2 separate regions of the Homo sapiens genome follow, and region 1 is linked to region 2. The links are contacts of gene promoters, found by promoter capture Hi-C in blood cells and fetal thymus (Javierre and others, 2016). All regions are on one chromosome and are shown on one strand. Each heading gives the region's core, a stretch centred on a gene start or on the middle of the fragment in contact. The rest is flanking DNA. Distances are from core to core; before and after follow the strand shown.

Region 1 (5,392 bases), core at 1,486-3,985, 300 kb before region 2:
CGCCGGATCCACCTCTTCACCCTGGTGCAGATCCTCTGCCTGGCGGTGCTCTGGATCCTCAAATCCACGGTGGCTGCCATCATCTTCCCGGTCATGGTAAAGTGGGCACGGGCTTCCCCCTCCTGCCTGGCAGGTTGGCCTGGGCAACCCAGAGGTGCAGCGCAACCTCCCCTCCTGCCACCTTCTGCCTTCCTGTCAGCTGTGGCCTGGCTCCCTCGGGTCACGGAGGCTGGCACAGAATGACCTGATTTGAGTTGTGAGTCCAGGCCAGATGGTGTGGGGTGGGGCAGAGAGGAGGCGGAGGAAGGAATGTCAGAGCCGCTCAGTGAGAACCCAGGAGCCACCCTACCTCCTGGCTCCAGGGAGGGACGGAGAAAGAAAATCAGTTCAACCAGGAGACCGAGTTCCCACTGCCAAAATTCCAACCAGTCTCAGAAGTCGATGCGTACTAAATATAGATCTTTCCACCATTCAAGATAGCTAAATTTAAAAAGCTAAATAGTGAAGTAGGGGGGCAGGGGAAGAACGAGGGTCAGAGATCAAGAACAACAAAACCCAATGATGGTATATATAAAGCTTGAGCAAGGGAAAGGTTACAGGTCTTTCACTATTCTTGCAAATATTGTATAAGTTTGAAATTACTCCAAAATAAGAAGTGAAAAGAATGCAAAGCCAACAACATGTTGCATCTGGCCCCCTAGATAACTCACCGAGGGCAGTGACCCAGGCCCTTGCCAGGAGCCTGGAGTGTGTCAGCAAATGCCTGGGGAAAGCCTGAGGGCTCTGGGGTAGGGGACAAAGTAAGGACACTGAGGAGAACTTGAAGTGCACACTGCTGGGAGGGGTCTAGTCCATGGTTCTTGACCCGGGCTGCCCATGAAAATCAACCCAGATCAACAAATCAGAATCTCTAGGGAAACCCAGACTTTGGTATTTTTATGAGGTCCACAGGTGAGCATAGACCTGCAGCCAGGGTTGAGAACCCCCACTGCAGGGAAAGGGAGATAGATCCTCCCCCCAGTGCCCTCAGGGGCCTCAGAGCTGGCGAAGGGAAAGGCAGTAGTAGTCATGATTAGCATTTACTGAGTACTGTTCCACTGAGTCCACACCAGCCCCCAAAGCACTAATAACCCCGCTTTACAGATGAGAAAATGAGGCTCAGAGAGCATGAGCAGAGTGACCCTGGACACACAGCCAGATAGGGCAGGGCAAGACCCACACCCTCCACCTATTGATTTTTTTGTTTAATTTGCATACAGTAAAATTCAATGTGTGGGTCTATGAGTTTTGGCAAATGTACAGAGTGGTTAGAGACATAAATTCTCAGGCATTACCTGACCTGCTAAATCAGAAACTGGGGGAATCCAGTGATTTGTGTATTAATTAACAAGCCCTCCAGGTCCTGGTGCATGCTCAAGTTTGAGAGCCACTAATTTATGTATTTATTTTATTTGTTTGAGATGGAGTCTTGCTCTGTCGCCCAGGATGGAATGCAGTGGCACAATCTTGGCTCACTGCAACCTCCGCCTCCCGGTTTCTAGCGATTCTTCTGCCTCAGTCTCCTGAGCAGCTGGGACTACAGGCACCCACCACCATGCCTGGCTAACTTTTGTACTTTTAGTAGGGACAGGGTTTCACCATGTTGGCCAGGCTGGTCTTAAACTCCTGACCTCAGGCGATCTGCCCACCTCGGCCTCCCAAAGTGCTGGGATTACAGGTGTGAGCCACCACGCCTGGCTGAGAACCACTAATTTAAAGAATAACTGTAGTTCTCCAGCCCATGGCCTTTCTGAGGCTCCCCACTTCGGCTGTCACAGGCTCCGTCCCTCTTGGTCACTGGTAGGCATGGTCACTCACCTGAGGGGCCAGACAAGAGGAACTACGGTGGAGGGAAAGTGAATAATGGCTTATGGGAGCTTCGAGACGGCTCCAAAGACACCACAAAAAGTCCCTGAACTCAGCCGACTGAGGGAGAAAAAAATCTATGCCTGAGTTTGGGCATTGAGACCACAGTTTTCTCCAAATTCTCACAAAACTTTAGTCTCTCTCCACCACAGATCCTGGGCCTCATCATCGTTCGAAGGCTTCTGGATTTCATCTTTTCCCAGCACGACCTGGCCTGGATTGACAACATCCTCCCAGAGAAGGAAAAAAAGGAGACAGACAAGAAGAGGAAGAGAAAAAAAGGGGCCCACGAGGACTGTGATGAGGAGGTGGGGAAGATGTGAGGCCGGGGCACAGAGGAGAAATTGAGAGACCTTCTCTCCACTTTTGCCAGGGACAGGGAGAGGGCGGCTTCTTGGGTGGCCTGCAGCAGTGCCTCGGCCCAGTCCAGGATGGGCTGGGGCATCTGCTTGTCTTGGTCTGGGGTGTTGAGGGCTCTTCTGTTTATGTGAATATCCTCAGGGTGGGCCAGAGTGAATGAGACTCCCTGTCCAGGGAAAAGGTGACTGGCCATGCCCACTCTTTCCATCACTGTGGGCTTTACGGCCGTGATCACAGCAAGCGGGTTCCTGTGGGAAGGGCCAGGAGGCAGCTCCAGCATGGAAGGAGGTTATGAAGACTGACCTCCAAAGAGTGGAGCAGACTTGGGGAGAGGTGTCTAATGGGGCCTTATAAGTAGACTGGACTCCAGACAGGCAGGAGGGGCTGGGAACAAGTTTTGCTTGCGCCTTTGCCTAGGGTATTGAGGACAAAGATGGGGAAAGAGGCAGGTATCCTCGCCAAAAGGAGACTGGCTACATTTCCCAGATGTCTGGGACAACATGGTTGCCCCATCTGCCCCTCTTCTCCCATGGTCCCTTCCCATTTCATCCCCAAAACACTCAGGGAGTCAACAGACAAGGGGCCAGTCCAGAAATTATAGTGAATCACAAAACATGAGGCAGAAAGATTCTTAATTCATGTGTTCATTACTTATGATGAAACTGTCCCCACAAAAGGAAGTGACTTACCCAAAATGGACATGTAGCTACATTTCTAAGAAGGAATTAAGAAAATAATTCCTGACTTTGCTGGTTTCTGATATGCTAAGCTGCCTGTGCCATCTCCTAATGCTGTGCTTGGTTCCCAATCTCCCAATTTGACCCAAACTCACGTCCCTGCATCCACCCTGTCCTGTTCTCGTGATTTTGCCTTGTGCAGATGAAACCTGTTCAAGGCAAATCCCTTCTGACTGGCTGGTGGTGATTAAACCATCTTCTGATCAGTCAGAACTCCCCTGGTCCTTAATTACTGTGCTCTTCCAGGAAGAGTCCCATAATGCATGTGTTTGTAGATGATTTGTAAAGGTGGGTTCTGAAAACAAAGAAACAGAGACTAAGTGCCTTTTAAAGACAAATACTTCTTTTGTTGATACTTTCAATAAATATCTGAGTGGCTACCACATGCCAAGAACTATTACAGGGTTGGGAAAAAGAATCTCTGAATTATGATATATCAATGGAAAAACAGGATTCAATTTATACAAATTCATTTTACTTGTCTTATAGCAACACAGTTGTTGTGTGAGGTTCATTCCCAAGTGACTGGTTGCTGTGACAGATAAAACTGTTTTGATGAGTAACATTCCTGGAAGAGTTCCGGTCTGTCTGATGGTGTGTATAGGACAGCAGGCTAACTGTGCCCATTCCCCTTCAGTGGACCCCAGGGTATTTGCAGCATCCCCTAACTGTTTAGAGGTGAACAGAATGGTGGTTTGCAATGTTCATGCATGCATTTTCCATCTTGGCAAGAAAGCCAAGTTGTTGGCCACGCGCGGTGGCTCACATCTGTAATCCCAGCACTTTGGGAGGCCGAGGCAGGGGGGATCACAAGGTCAGGAGTTCAAGACCAGCCTGGCCAGCATGGTGAAACCCCATCTCTACTAAAAATACAAAAAATTAGCCAGGTATGGGGGTGCACGCCTGTAATCCCAGCTACTTGGGAGGCTGAGGCAGGAGAATCACTTGAACCCAGGAGGCAGAGGTTACAGTGAGCCGAGATCGCACCACTGCACTCCAGCCTGGGCAGTAGAGCGAGACTCTGTCTCAAAAAAAAAAAAAAAGAAAGCCAAATTGTTGTGTTGGTGTTTATCCTCTTTTCCCACTGTTTTTCTCCAGCCCCAGTTCCCTCCTCCCTCGGTTATAAAGATTCCCATGGAAAGTGTCCAATCAGATCCCCAAAACGGTATCCACTGCATTGCCAGTAAGTAAAACACATGATGTCTCTCCCTTCTTACTACTAGTCCTCCATGTCTTTCCCCTAGGAACTTTCATCTGTAACTCAGGGGGATCTAATCATTTTGGATGCTAGAGCAGCAGTCCCCAACTTTTTTGTCATAAGGGACAAGTTTTGTGCAAGATAGTTTTTCCACGGACCAGTAGGGAGTGGGGAATGGTTTTGGGATGAGACTGTTCCACCTCAGATTCTCTTAAGGAATACGCAACCTAGATCCTGCATATGGACAGTTCACAATAGGGTTCTCACCCTTATGAGAATCTATTGCTGCCACTGATCCCACCGGAGCTGGAGCACAGGGGTTAATGCTTGCTCGCCCATGCTCACCTCCTGCTGTGCGGCCTGGTTCTGCTACTGTTCCATGGCCTGGGAGCTGAGGACCCCTGCGCTAGAAGACCTTTGTCCTTGGCAGAGATCAAAGAGAACTGGGCCACCAGGACTGGTACTCCAACCAGATGGAAACCCCAGAGCAAAGCCTGCAGACTCGACTAATTCTCACTTTAGTTGAGGCAAAATCCCTCATTCCCTCCTTTCCCCAGGTGTCCCCAGATCCCTGTGGCATCTCCTGGCCCTCTTCTATGTTGTTTCAGACCACATCAGTCCAAACATGGCCCACCAGGCCTCCCATGTTTTCCAGTGGCTGTTGAAATGGTTGAGGGCTCAGAACCAAGCTTTTCCCTTTAGAGAAATAGGTAGCATAGCACTTGGGTTATAAGTCAGGCATAATTGGAGGTCCTCGTGGTGGTTGTGCTGTGCCTCTGTGTGAATCCTCAGCACCTTCTCAGCAGACAGCTGAGAGGGAGGCTGCCTAGGAGGGACTGGGCATTGCTTATGGAAATCCTGGGAGATTATATTACTGCCTTTAACCCCTCCCAGCCTCAGCTCCCTATAGGTGGCCAGTCCTGTCATCCAGGCAACATAGCCTGTCCCGAGGTCTTCTGAAAGATCCCTACCTTAGTCCCGAGCCCCGTGCTTCTAATACAGGGCTTGCCACCCTCAAAGACAGATTAGGGGTGGGTAGCCAGGGCATCCTTCCCATCAGCACTGTCCATCATAGGTACCTCAAGATCTTGAGTTTCTCAGACTCCTCCCCCACTCCTATTTCTCTCTTCCCTGGCCCTCCCATGCCTCACACCCCCTAGCCCTGGCTGAGCACCTTCTGGGTGAAGGAGTA
Region 2 (4,883 bases), core at 197-2,696:
TGAAACCCTGTCTCTACTAACAAAACAAAAATTAACTGGGTGTGGTGGCGGGTGCCCCTAATCCCAGCTATTCGGGAGGCTGAGGCAGGAGAATCGCTTGAACCAGGGAGGCAGAGGTTGCAGTGAGTCGAGATCGTGTCATTGCACTCCAGCCTGGGTAACAAGAGCAAAACTCCATCTCAAATAAAATAAAATAAAAACTTCCCTCAATTCTTCATCCCTAATTTTTCTCCATCATACTTATTACTCTCTAACATATTGTTCACCTTGCTTAATTTATGTTGTTTATTGTCCATCTCTCCCTACTTGAGTTCCATGAGAGCAGAGATTTTTATTTGTTCTATTCACAGCTGTATTCTCCAGGCCAAGAACAGTGCTGGCATATGGAAGTGGCTCAAAAGGTGATTTGTTGAATGAATAAAAAAAGAAATTCTCAGTTTGCTGCTACGTCTTCAGTACTCAACACTTGCTAAGCCCCTTTTAGGGGCTCAGTGACTTGGTAGATAAAAGTATCAAGTCAGAATTTATTAATATTAAATCGAAATGCTTTGCCTTCATTTTGCTTTCTGACTACTTTTTATTCAAGATACTGGATCTCACTCTTTTAACAAAATAATTTTTAATTTAATACATGTTTTTAAGTTTAAAAAGTGAGGTTCTTCTAAGAAAAGCCTTAAGAAATTATTATGCAACTAGCACAGGCACAGGGCAAAAATTGTGAATGTGGTATTTGAACGACTGAAATTTAGGAACTCTCTTCGAATAGGGTTGCCAGATAAAATACAGGACACAGTTAAATTTGAACTTTCAATGAGTGATTTCGTTGTTGTTTTGCTGTAAGGATGTCCCAAATATTGCATTGGACACACACTAAAAATTATTCGTTATCTTAAATTCTATTTTAACTGGATATTATTTTTAATTTCTGCTAAATATGGCAACCCTATCTAGGAGAACAAATAAACTGCACCCGCTTGTCGCTTCAATTTCGATCTATTACAAACAGCTAATACAATTCTTGTCCTATCCACTAACTGCGTGGCTTTTATGCCCCAACAAATATGTTCCTGTGGGCGGGTACTGAGGCCCGATATCCTAAAAACAAGGAGGCAAAGATACACAGTGCACTTTGCGAGGGGAAAGGCTCTCCTCGCAGCCCAGAAAAAGAGGCCGGCCGCATCAGACGCAGGCCATTCCGGGCCCAGCTCCTTTCCCAGCCTCTGTCGCCTGCGTGGCGGAGGCCAAGGCTTGGCAGCCGCTTTCCGGCCCTTACCAATGTTGCCTTCGATGGAGAGCCTTCGGGGCCCGCGCCCCGCGTGCAGGCCTCTGGAGGAGGAAACGCCCTCGAGTGGGCTCTTGGCCATGGAACTGAAGGGTGCTCGAAGCCGACTTAGAAAGAGGCGGCCCGCGGCCATCCCACCCACGATTCACACAGCGATCACTTCCGCCGAGAGCACTTCCGCCCTAGGTATCGCTGCTCACTCGCTCCAGCGCACCGTTGACGTAAGGAGATCGTCAGACAGGAAGTGGGTGGGGTTGAACATGCGGCGGGGTGCGCCCAAGAGACCGCTCCGCTATCGCGATGTTTGTAAAGAAGCGTTGAGTGAAGGAAGTTTTGCAACGGTGCAGAATTTGATAGTAAAAGGAGTTGCGGTGCGAGTGGTTTTTGTTCATTGGACAAATAACATTTTAAAAGACGTAATTCCACAATCCAACCACTTCATTTTTGTATAACTTTAAAATAAATTTTATAACTGAAGACAAAATTAAAAATAGAAATTGTAATTTTAAGAGGGGATTTCCCCCCCCCCAGGTGCTTGTTGTCTGGTTTTTATTTTAATATCGGAAGAAAATGGAAGTTTTAAAGTAGGAAAATGACTCAATCTGATGATTTACACAAATTTAACTTTTTCCTATTCCCTGTAATTCCCCTGCACAATGCTGGCATATTATTGACTAAATTAACAAATTAGATAATCAGTTACACCCCATCTCTTAGTTTGTGTCTTGAATAAGTAAATAAATGTTCGGTCAATCGATTTGCATTATACCCAAAAATCCCTTCAGGATAAGGTGGTGGTGGCTCAGGTATGTGACTGGAAATTGTTTAAACCTGGTAGGCTGGGTTCTTGGACGTAAGCAATGGCGAGTAGAGACTTGTATAAAACCTGAGTCCTGCTGTCGGTGAAGTGTGCTCTGCAGGAGGGCAGGGACCTAAGCTGCTGCCACAGGTGAAGCCGGACTGCCACACCCCGTCGTCATAACAACCTCAGAAGTAATGATTTACAAAATGTTGTCAAATGGTGCTTCCAGTTCCAATCGCTTAAATCACCAACAGTCAAAACCAGGAGTCAACAGGCCAAACCGGCCTTCAGGCAGCGCTCTTAGGTGTGGCAGGTTTTAGAAGACAAGGATCTGATTGCAAGGGGGCTGGGGAGGGGCCGGGGGCTGGGATACCTGTCTTGAAGCTGTTCCCATAAAAAGCACGGGACCTTTTTCTTATGTTGATGTATATATAGGATGGCTGAGGTCATGTTTATATATTAAGAACTTTTTTTTTAATCGAATTTTTTAAGGATAACCAGGGTGGGGCGTTAATGGCTACTGGAGCGGCTAAAGTCCTACCCATTCCCATCTCCACTCCAGCAGCCACTTCTGTTAAAACAAAACAAAACAAAACAAAACAAAACAAAAAACAAAAAAAAAACTGCTTACATTTCTTTACCTATGTAAACTCAGACTTGGAAAATATTCATCCAAAAAAGCTTGAGAGGCTCTCTGCCTCGCCAGGATCTTGCTGCCTCAGGGGTGTTGTGAAAGTTAAATGAGGAAGTTGTCTGCAGGCAGGCATTAATCTCCTAAAAGCTACGAGGCAGGAAAATAGGGTCTGGAGACAGGGAACCTAAGGCCGATTTAGGCTGACTTCCTAGAACTAAATCAAAAGGAAAACCCCAACTTTCTAGCCCAAGTAACAAAAGGACCAGAAGCTAATCCCTCTTCTGGGTGGCAGATAAAAAATTGAAAGTACCTCTGACTGGTCCCCGCGGGCAATCAGTCAGGCTGGTGGCAGGCCAAGTCTTTAGTTGCATGGGGTATAACTTCATAACTTTACTTCAGCCTCTGATTGGTCCCCTCCTGCAACCAATCAGACTGATCGCTGGCCACTACTTCATTTACATAGGGTGTACACCAGGTAACCAATGGGAAACCTCTAGAAGGTATTTAAACCCCAGAAAATTCTGTAATTGCTGCTTGCTTGGGCCCTTCCTACCGCAAGGAGTGTTCTTTGATGTACAATAAATCTGTGCTTTTGTTGCTTCATTGTTTCCTTGCTTTGTACGTTTTGTCCAATTCTTTGTTCAAAATGTCAAGAACCTGGGCACCCTCCACCAGTAACAGAGCTCCTAAAAATTATTTTTAAAAATTTTATGGTGAAGTGGCCTGGCGCGGTGGCTCACGCCTGTAATCCCAGCACTTTGGGAGGCTGACGAGGGCGGATCACGAGGTCAGGAGATCAAGACCATCCTGGCTAACATGGTGAAACCCTGTCTCTACTAAAGAGAGAGAAAAAAAAAAAAGCGGAGTGTGGTGGTGGGCTCCTGTAGTCCCAGCTACTCAGGAGGCTGAGGCAGGAGAATGGCCTGAACCGGGGAGGCGGAGCTTGCAGTGAGCCGAGATCGCGCCACTGTGCTCCAGCCTGGGCGACAGAGCGAGACTCCGTCTCAAAAAAAAAAAAAAAAAAAAATTATGGTAAAGCATAGTATGTAGTGAGGAAAAGAGGATGTGTTGTGCAGTGAGGAAAAGAGGATGTGTTGTAAGTGTACAGTTCAATGAAGTTTTCACAAATGGAATGACTGTTACCTGGATTCAGATCAAGAAACAGCATTATCCGCATCTCCAGAATCCCCCATATTCGTTGCCAGTTACTATCCCTCAAAGATAACCATTAGCCTGACTTCAACAGTAGAGATTAGTTTTGCGTTTTCTTTATATAAATGGAATTATATAGTAAATACTTCTTTTATTTAACATATCTGTGAGATTCATCCAGGTTGAATGTATTAGTTGTAGTTCACTCATTCTCATTGCTGTATAGTATTCCACAATGTCACTATACCACAATGTACTCGGAAGTTTCTAGATTTGAGCCATAATGAATAGTGTTGCGGTAAATATTCTTGTACATGTCTTTTGGTAAAAAGAAGTATGCATTTCTCTTGGGTGTATAAGTAAGACTGGAACTGCTGTGTAATAAGTTACATATATATGCTCAGCTTTGATAGATATTCCCAAATAGTAGATAGTTCCACAGTGTTTGTTCTAGTTGACATTGCCATCATCAGTGAGAGAGAGTTCTGGTTTTCCCACATTCTTACCAACAGTTGATATTGTCAGCTTTTTAAATTTTATCCATTTTGCTGTGTGTAATTATAACTTATTGTGGTTTTAATTTGCATTTTCCTGCTGATTAATGAAGTCAAACATCTTTTTGTATGTTTATTGGTCATTTCAGTATCCTCTGTTGAAGTCTTATGTCCATTTTTCTATTGGTTGTCTTTTGCTTGTCTTATTCTTCAAATATTCTGGATGAGTCCTTTGTGAATATTTTATCTCTGTGGTTTGCTTCTTTTCTTTTCTTTTCTTTTCTTTTCTTTTCTTTTCTTTTCTTTTCTTTTCTTTTCTTGTGTTGAGACAGAGTCTCTTGCCCAGGCTGGAGTGCAGTGGGGCAATCTTGGCTCACTGCAACCTCCATCTCCTAGATTCAAGCGATTCTCATGCTTCAGCCTCCCAAGTAGCTGGGATTACAGGCATGTGCCATGCCCGACTAATTTTTTGTATTTTTAGTAGAGACGGGGTTTTGCTATGTTGGCCTGGCTGCTCTT

Evidence for each region. Contacts are between HindIII fragments. The CHiCAGO score rates a contact against its expected background, and 5 or more counts as called.
Region 1: a fragment that was not itself captured here is called in contact with the fragment with the promoter of DGUOK in region 2 in 2 of 17 cell types (activated CD4 T cells and non-activated CD4 T cells); the score reaches 5.1 in activated CD4 T cells.

The regions. Positions count from the first base shown.
Region 1 is chr2:74,221,661-74,227,052 of GRCh38, reverse strand. It overlaps SLC4A5 (solute carrier family 4 member 5), which reads left to right. Exons shown (of 31, transcript NM_133478.3): 27 at 1-96; 28 at 2,058-2,213; 29 at 4,101-4,185. Among named protein-coding and RNA genes, the nearest start is that of MTHFD2, 26 kb to the right of the region's middle. The HindIII fragment of the contact is 4,313 bases long and covers 579-4,891 here.
Region 2 is chr2:73,923,443-73,928,325 of GRCh38, reverse strand. DGUOK (deoxyguanosine kinase) reads right to left here and starts at 1,446. Exons shown (of 7, transcript NM_080916.3): 1 at 1,274-1,446. The coding sequence starts at 1,415. RefSeq lists an enhancer at 1,145-1,414. The HindIII fragment of the contact is 7,290 bases long and covers 1-2,767 here.